3 separate regions of the Homo sapiens genome follow, and regions 1 and 3 are each linked to region 2. The links are contacts of gene promoters, found by promoter capture Hi-C in blood cells and fetal thymus (Javierre and others, 2016). All regions are on one chromosome and are shown on one strand. Each heading gives the region's core, a stretch centred on a gene start or on the middle of the fragment in contact. The rest is flanking DNA. Distances are from core to core; before and after follow the strand shown.

Region 1 (3,032 bases), core at 304-2,803, 2.0 Mb before region 2:
GAGACAGGCGGATCTCGAGGTCAGGAAATCGAGACCATCCTGGCCAACATGGTGAAACCCCGTCTCTACTAAAATACAAAAAATTAGCCGGGCATGGTGGTGCGTGCCTGTAGTCCCAGCTACCCGGGAGGCTGAGGCAGGGGAATCGCTTCAACCCGGGAGCCAAAGGTTGCAGTGAGCTGAGATCGCGCCAGTGCACTCCAGCCTGGAGACAGAGCGAGACTCCGTCTCAAAAAAAACAAACAAACAAACAAACAAAAAAAAACAGTTACAGAGTTTTCTCAAAATATTAAAAATTAAACTACCATCTGATCTAGGAACCCCACTTCTGGGTATTTATCCAAAATAATTAAAATCAGCACCTGGAAGAGCTATTTGCATTCCCATATTCACTGCGGCATTATTCTCAATAGCCAAGATTTGGAAACAACCTGAATGTCCACGGATGATTGGATAAAGAAAATTTGGTATATAAATACAAGGGAATATTATCCAACCTTTAAAAAGAAGGAAATTCTGCCACATATGACAACATAGATAAACCTGGAGGACACTATCCCAAGTAAAATAAGTGAGTCACAGAACAACAAATACTGCACGATCCCACTTCTCTGAGGTATCTAAAATAGTTAAACTAATAGAAAGAGAGAGAATAGTGGTTGCCAGGAGCTAGGGGAGGGGAAATGAGGAGTTGCTACTCAATAGGTATAAAGTTTCAGTTATGCAAGATGAAGATGTTCTAGAGATCTGCTGTACAACATTATGCCTGTAGTTAATAATACTGTATTGTACACTTAAAAATTTGTTAAGTGGGTAAATCTCCTGTTAAATGTTCCTGCCACAGTTAAAGAAAAAGAGAGAAAAAGAGAGTGAGAGAGACAACGATAAGCTATTGAAGGACGCTCAGTGGAAAGTGTGGTGATGTAGGCAGTTTTTATTTTTGCTTAGGATTTTGTTTGCTTGTTTACCAGTATGGTAAGCATTCTGTGAGACCATTCTTGCCTCTCATGTGGTCCTTCGTGTAACCAGGGCTGGATTTGTGCCAGTGTGCAGTGGCATTCTGACTAAATGTTAACGTTTGAGAGGCATGCACAAGGCCTACGGCTGACAATGTCTTCCTTGCTGTTTTGCAACTCCCGACATTTATCACCACTTTGAGTTAAGGTCCATATTCAAGTCAGATTGTTTCCAGATAATCATTGAGGTACTGGCATGTAACACACATTAAATAATCTCATCTGCTAACAGAGAGTAAGTGCATTTTTACATGTTTTAGAGATTAGAATTGGATCCAAATGAGGTGTAACGTAATGGCACCATGAGATCTGTGGTGGGGAAGGGTGATGGGGAGAAAAGCTTCAGCAAAAAGAGGACTAAAGTAGAAATATCAACCGCCAGCTTTCATCTGTGCCTGGGGGCGGTCCTTCCTGTGCTCGTGGCACGTGTTTATACTATGATTGACAACCCTTAAGGAGAAAGGCTAAGGTCATGAAACAAAGCTCTCTTTCCTTTTCTTTTCCCTCCCCCTACCTTTACCCCATTCCTTTCTTTTTCTGTAAAAGCTAGCTGTGATGTGTAAATGTTGCACCTGTCACCCTGACCTCATTGTAGAGCCATCTTCTGAGTAACTGGCAACTGGCAACTGATGCTAAGTGCTATGAATGCAGCTGGTGGGAACTGAACACACCAGTGTAAAAGATGAAACTAGAAGTCCTTATCTGTAAAGTGAGGGTGTCAGGCTAAGCGACCAATAAGCTTTGCTTAAGATTTTATATTTGTGAAGCATTTATATGTAAATACTTTCACTTTTTCCTCTGATCTCTAAGGAAGTGGTGTTAAGTTTGAGTTTGTCATAATTTCACAGGGTGACTCTTAGTTGAAATGTCACTGACAGCTTGCGGTTTGGACTTTTTTTTTTTTTTTTTTTTTTAACTCCAGTCAGAAACAACTAGAAGCCATTAAACAACTACAGGAAGATGCTGTCAACCAGGAAGGCATCCTTAGGAAGAGGCTCCAAGAAACCAGCCAACGGCTGGAGGATGTGGAGGAGCAGGTAGGGTGGCTCATGGCTACATTAGATTCAGGGGACATCTCCTCAGATGCCCTGCAAACCATGAAATAAAAATGGAGGAGGAACAACAACAACAAACAAAAAAAAAAAGCAAAGAGGAACTGCAAGTTCAGTCCCTAGCGACTAACAGTGAGCAGAGGAAGTAAAGGGGGAGTTGTAAGAGAGGCGGTATCAACAGCCTGCTGATGAAAGAGGCGACTCTGCAGAAAGAGGCAACTTGACATATCAGGACTTTAACCGCTGTAGAAATAGCTCAGGCATACCAAGCCCATGCAAACACAGAATTGCAGAAGTTCAGGAGAGGCTTATCACTTCCCTGAGAAGAAAAACACATTTTCAGTTTTGCCTGCATCATAAGAGTGAGCACTCCATTGCTTTCTTTCCTGGCCACACTGCTACAATCCAGCACTAACTATCCATGTCCAGGGTAAGGATCGAGATCGAGAAGCCCACACTGCCAGTGAAAAAGCTACGTCTTTACTGCATAAATTAGAGGAAGCAATTTCGGAACAACGGAACCTTCAAACTATAAATACTGAATTATCGAACACTTGCCAGGCACTTCAGCAGAAGACAAGGAAACTGAAGAGTGAGTAGCAAATATTCATTTATGACCCAGTTTTTGTCCACCCTCAGGCGGGGCATAGGACTACAGACATTTTTCTAGATTACAGCTAGGATATTATTCCTGAGTTTATGACAATGAAATGGTTTGAGAAGGCAATATTGTGGGGCTTTCAGAGAGGTTTGCTGAGTGGCTAGGTGCATGCATGGGTTTAACCATTAACTTCCCTTTTTGCCTTTTTATTATAAGCTGGTTTTGTCTGTGGCTGTTTTTTTCTTTTAAAATTAATTAAAACTTCTCAAAATTTCTAAAAGTAAACAAGGAGAAAAATCTAGTATGCATGGTATATTTGAACTTGCAAGTTGTTATATATTATACTCTGATTTTATTAGCTAG
Region 2 (3,004 bases), core at 468-2,967:
TAACATCCCATTCTGAGTTCTCACTGAGATGAACAAGAATTACCTGAAATCGGCCGGGCGCGGTGGCTCATGCCTGTAATCCCAGCACTCTGGGAGGCCAAGGCGGGCAGATCACGAGGTCAGGAGTTCGAGACCAGCCTGAACAACATGGTGAAACCCCGCCTGTACTAAAAATACAAAAACTAGCTGGGTGTGGTGGCGGGCGCCTGTAATCCCAGCTACTCTGGAGGCTGAGGCAGGAGAATTGCTTGAACCCGGGTGTCGGAGGTTGCAGTCAGCCAAGATCATGCCACTGCACTCCAGCCTAGGCGACAGAGCGAGACTCCGTCAAAAAAAAAAAAAAAAAAAGTCACCTGAAATCATCAAAAATGGTGTACTCATAGGGAGCCAAGCCCGGGCATGTTGCTTCTTGGCTCCCACAGGTGAATTTGAAGTGGCAATAGAACTTCGTTGATTCTTGTTTTTCTCATTTTAGTTTTACTCTCTATTAAATTGTTATTTTTTACAGTTCATTTATGGATGACAAGTTATTTCCTGTTGGTAGCTGCAATGATTGGGAATTTTGTGATCTCTGTAAACGAATTAATATCTCATAGAGATCTATTTCCTGTTGGATATGAGACAACAGAGAACACAGTTTTTGTCCATTTGTCTTTTTTAAGGTCAAATCGATTAGAAATTTCTTGCCCTCAAGTAAGGAGAACAACTCTGATACCTGGACTGGCAAGCTTTTGTGTTTCTGTGTTTATTTTTCATTTGTGGCTGAACTTGTAGAATTGAGGGTATACACATTCTATCTGTATGTCTATGTATCTGTAATTCAGAAAGTCCTTTATTTCTCATTGTGAGTATGGAATGTTTTCCTGTCTCCAGATGGTATTAATAAATTAGATGGTAAAGGCTCTTTAAAAATAAAGCCTCATTATGGGTTCATTTTCCCTCTCAAACTCTGTAGAACATAACCAGTTTGAAAAGCCTCTAGATTTGGGGGTGTAAAAATTCCATGCAGCTTGAGAGCCATCAGTCATTAAGCCGCTAGTTCCACCCCAAGTCTTGCTGTCCAGAAGCTCAGACAGTCCACTGGGCAGCAAAGAGGCGCTTTAGTAAGTTGAATTAAAGCCACAAACATGGCTGCTCCCTAAGGGAGATAATACTGTGTTAAAAAAAGAGAATTATTTATCTCTTCCCATTTCCTCCGCTAAATGAGGAGGTTAATAGTAAGACCTCCTTAGCCATGAGTGTTTCCGCTGCAGGAAACACCATTCGTGCCGGTTCTGGACTCACCACCCAGCGTGTACCAACGCCCCCAGCACCATCTCCCTGCTAGGCTGACAGACCCCTGGCGGATTTTGACCTCGCAAGAAATGCAAAAGCAACTTTGGGTTGCAGAAGCCAGGCGCCCCGACCTTACCCTCGCTGGAATTCCCGAAGACCTCGGCTGCACCAGCCACCCGGTGTTCGGATGCCAGCACCGCTACGACCAGCAGCTGCAGGAACCCCATTGCTGCCTGGGCCGGGCTGGGCCCACGCCAGGGCTGGGGAGAGGTGCGGGCGTGCGCGCCGGGGCCCCGCAGCCTCGCCCACGCTATCCCGGGGCGCCCGCATCGGGCGCCATCGCCCGCCAGGTGCAGACGCTTCGCACCTGCCAGCTCCGCAGCCGCCGGCGCGCGCCCCGCCGAACTCCTAGCCCCAGCGAGAGGTTTCCTCTTCCGGCACCTGACCCCCAACGCGCGTTCCCGCGCCTCCTCCCGGGCTCTCGCTGCGTCACAGCGGCGGGTCTCTGGGCGCGGGCGGCGCTGGGGCGTTTCCAGGCAGCGCGCGCCTCCTGCCGGCGCGCGGGGAACGCGCAGCCTGCGGTGCTCCCGGGAGCCCCCAGGAAGTCCTGGCTTGAGGCCCGGTCTTGCCCCACTTTTATCTCACCAAGTAGGCAAACCCACTGTGAAAGTACAAAATAACTTTCTGTTGCGGACTAACGTCGCCAGGCTCCTGTTTCCGTGTTTAACGGCCCTTTACAACAGCAAAAAAGAGGAATCAGTTGCTAAAAACACAATTGAAGGTTATTTCCCCCGGTAGCAATTGTCTTCGCTGCTGAGGCTTATGTTAGCATAAAAATGCCAGGAGAATGCTGTTTGTGTAGTGGTTACCGCACTAGTCATAAGCACTACATTTAAAAGTAGTTTCGTTTTCTCTAAGCGAAATATCCTCGAAGACACGGCCTTGGTCTGAACTTCGTCTCAAGTCTCATACCTGAGTGCTGTTTGAGGGACAGTAGTCCATGTGACAGATGGCTCATCGATGATGTGGAATTAGACGCATAGACTTAACGTTATTTGGGGAGGATTGTCTTGCTTTCCTTCCCTGGTTTTAATTTTTTTCACTTATATATTTTGATGAGCAACTTATAGCTTGGAAATTACATGTTCAGTTAGTCCACTACTAAGCTAACAATATATAGCTGTGACCATAATGTGAAGAAGTGTTAAAGACAAAATTATTCAATGATACTTGTTAAAGCACCGAACGAAGACTATTGAGGACTGTCTCAATTGGCATAGGGACCACTGCAACTGGGTCTTGCAGTGGGGAAGAGGGACTGGGCTCAACTCCGAATACAGCGTGGGCAAGAGGGAATTTATAGCCAACCAGCAGTATGGAGTTCAGTGGATGGAAAATTACTAAGAGGAAGCATCAGAGGTAAGGGGCATTTGGTGAAACTGACCTAACAGGACTTCTGAAGACATAACATCACCTGGGGGATGGTGCAGGGTGAGAAAACTGATTAGATATGGAGGAAAGGGGGTTCTTTGCTAAAACTGGATTTTTACAAAGAAGTGCACAGATGGACCTAGCAGAAGATTCAGAAGCCGTACTAGAGTTTGGCCAAGCAAATAATCTTTGTCATAGGCACAATTCTTTCTCTGCTTTCCCACTGCCTGGTCCAAATTTTCACACCTTTGGTAGCACTATCTATTTCTGTAGTGCTTATTCACTCTCCCACATGCCC
Region 3 (2,976 bases), core at 69-2,568, 1.8 Mb before region 2:
AAATGAAAATAGAATTTAAAGTACAGACTATAGCAATAAGCACCCCCCTTTTGCCCATTCATTACAGTCCCATTCCTGGGGGTAGTTGAGCATGATTTCAATCAAATAAAATACAATCAATTCAAATAAAGTATTAAAAGTTTTGTAAAATCTCTTCACAGTTGTATTCCTAAACAGTAATTTGAACATCAAATTTGTATTAATAATGCCATTTTCTTCATTGGAAGAAAAGTCATAAATTATTAACTGAGACTAACTGGAATCATCTATATATTCATCAATTTGTAAGGCAATTCTTCTCATAGTCTAATCACTGTTTTCTGTATTTCATGTATTCTGTGAAGTACAGTGGTTTCTGATAAAAATATATTAATATAAATGTAGTGATGGGTTTTTTAACAGTACATCAGGTATCATAACCTTTTCTATAGTCTTACGCAATTTTCTAACTTTTGCAATGAACAATATTAATTTAAATTACGTGAAGTTTCAAAAGGCAACTTTGAAATCTGCGTAAAAATATTACACTCACATTTTTACTAATACACTAATCTTTCTTCATTAAAAAATTAATTACATTATCTTTGTAGTCTGGTACCAAAACATTATTATCAAATGATAGTACCAAAAAAATCTCTCACAATGTAACTTGATACACTCTTTGGTACCATAATTTGATAATAATCTCATGGGCAATGTAACTAAACAAAAATGATCACCACTTCACACTACCATGTGTATAAATTCACAATATCTCAGTACTTCTAATGACACATTTCACCACTTCCAAAAAGACAGGTAAGGCAGACAAAAACAGGAAGTCCTTAGTGTCTGATGTTAGCTTTGCCAACATCAATGTTTCGAATTGTCTAAAGGTTTCACATCCCAGTCCCAAGGGCAAAGAATCACAGAATGGGAGTAGATAACAGATAAGCTTTACTTTGTAAGAAGGGTGATTGTGACAGAGGAGGATGCAATGGTAAAAAGGCAGGGTTTTTTTTTTAATGTATGACTACATTTTCTCAGGAAAAGGTAAATATGGAAGTCAATCATCTGAAGATTGATTTCCATAAGACTGTGTCCTTGTATCCTTAGAAAACCTTTGTACACCTGTCAGAGTATGATTTACTTCTCAGTTTGAAGACTTCTAACCTACACTGCTGTGATGGATTCCTAAAGGGTACCCCTACTTTTACCCTTGTGTCCCCCTACAGTGAATTTTCCACATGGCAATCAAAGTGATCTTTTAAAAATGTAAATCAGATCATGCCACTTTTCTGTTTACAACTTTCCCAGGCTGCCCATCACACTCACAATAAAACCCAAATACTTTACCATGGCTTACTTGGCCATGAACTACAAACCGGCTCCTGATTAACCACGGTCTCCATGCCGTGTTTTTATCTTTCACTTTCTACCTCACTGTCTGTTCTAACCACACTGGCATTTCACCAAGGTCATTCTAAACTATGTCTGTTTCTCCTGCTTAATATACTCATTCCCCCAGGTAATTACTAACCTACTCCCTTGCTTCATCCAGGTCTCTTCTTAAATTTTACTTCCTTAATCATATTATATGAAATAGCATCATCATCAGCCCTACCCCACATTTTTTCATGACCTCTTAGTTTCTATGTATTAAAAGCTACCTGAAATTATATTATTTATATTCCTGTCTCACTTCCCACCCTCAAGTTGAATGTAAGCTTCATGAAGGCAGGAACTTGGTCTTGCTGCTGTTCACTTAATGCCTTGAACACTGCTAAATCAATGAAATAAATATTCTTCCATGTTTGCAAGAACTTATATATAAGGATCTTCATTCCTGCCTTGATTGTGATAGCAAAAAATAGGGCCAACATAAAAATCATGTAGCATACTTTCAATGAGATATGATGCAGCCATGAAAAAGAGTGAGGTAATTTCAATACGCCAAAACAAAAAGGTCCCCAAGGTATACTTACTCCATTGAACCTAAGATGTCATCAGATGTAAGATGTATTTATTATGTCCCAAAAAAGGAAATAATGCCTAAGATGGCAGTTAAAGGCGATACCTGTATAAAACTGGATATAGGGAAAGACAAACAATCCCACAACACAGTAATGCAGAGCAAAAAAAAAAGAAGGCTTGCATATGTCAACTCTGACACTGGTAGAAGGAAGAAAAAAAATTCCTGAGAATTTAAACCACAAGCCGGTTCATGTGGATTTGCAGTCTGACTCATACCATTGGTGTGGTCCAAAACCCTCAAGCATAGAATTTAAGTAGTACCAGACTGGTAATAAGCCCAACTGACAGATAGAAGCAAACATCTTCTGTTGAAGAAGTGGATGTCAATCCAGGACTACAATGATTGTAAGATACTATTATAAGACACATCTCAATTTCAGTAATGTTAAAATGTAAAAAGATTAGTATCCTATAATTAATAAAATATTGTTAAGTGAAAAACAGAAGGTGCAGAATGCTCCCATAGGCAGGGAGAAAAGGGGTCTCTGTGTGTGTACATATGTGCGCCCTTTAATGTTTAGAAAATTTATGAAAAGATGTACAGTGGTTCTAGGAAGGCAGATCAAATGTCTTGGGTTGAAGAAAAGTTTCAATTTTTTAATGCTATTTTAATTTTGTACCATGTGTGTTCATTAATTTTCCCTTAAGAAAACTTTAAAAAACCAGAAAGTATAAAATATATCCTTCAATGTTTTCCTACCTACACTGTAAATTCCCTTTACAGAACACCTCATCTCCAAACTGCAATATTTAAAAGTGAAATAATTAAAAAGTAAGTGATTTCTTTACTTGAACCCGGGAGGCGAAGGTTGCAGTAAGCCAAGATTGTGCCACTGCACTCCAGCCTTGGCAACAGAGCAAGACTCTGTCTCAAAAAAAAAAAAAAAAAAAAAAAGTAAGCGATTTCTTCTCTGGGTTTGGTTTCAAATTTCATAGGAAGAATCTCACCATTCTTTCAGAGAA

Evidence for each region. The method cuts DNA at HindIII sites, captures the fragments that hold promoters and counts their contacts. A CHiCAGO score of 5 or more calls a contact.
Region 1: a fragment that was not itself captured here is called in contact with the fragment with the promoter of TM7SF3 in region 2 in 2 of 17 cell types (fetal thymus and non-activated CD4 T cells); the score reaches 9.5 in fetal thymus.
Region 3: a contact is called between a fragment that was not itself captured here and the fragment with the promoter of TM7SF3 in region 2, in 3 of 17 cell types (naive CD8 T cells, total CD8 T cells and non-activated CD4 T cells). The highest score is 9.6, in naive CD8 T cells.

What each region holds. Positions count from the first base shown.
Region 1 is chr12:25,050,297-25,053,328 of GRCh38, forward strand. IRAG2 (inositol 1,4,5-triphosphate receptor associated 2) reads left to right here and starts at 2,410. Exons shown (of 22, transcript NM_001366544.2): 1 at 2,410-2,660. RefSeq lists enhancers at 1,765-1,874, 1,915-2,284. The HindIII fragment of the contact is 399 bases long and covers 1,355-1,753 here.
Region 2 is chr12:27,012,667-27,015,670 of GRCh38, forward strand. TM7SF3 (transmembrane 7 superfamily member 3) reads right to left here and starts at 1,718. Exons shown (of 12, transcript NM_016551.3): 1 at 1,412-1,718. The coding sequence starts at 1,502. RefSeq lists a silencer at 1,411-1,910. The HindIII fragment of the contact is 5,016 bases long and covers 727-3,004 here.
Region 3 is chr12:25,185,789-25,188,764 of GRCh38, forward strand. All of the region lies in intron 2 of DNAI7 (dynein axonemal intermediate chain 7), which reads right to left. Among named protein-coding and RNA genes, the nearest start is that of DNAI7, 7.9 kb to the right of the region's middle. The HindIII fragment of the contact is 772 bases long and covers 933-1,704 here.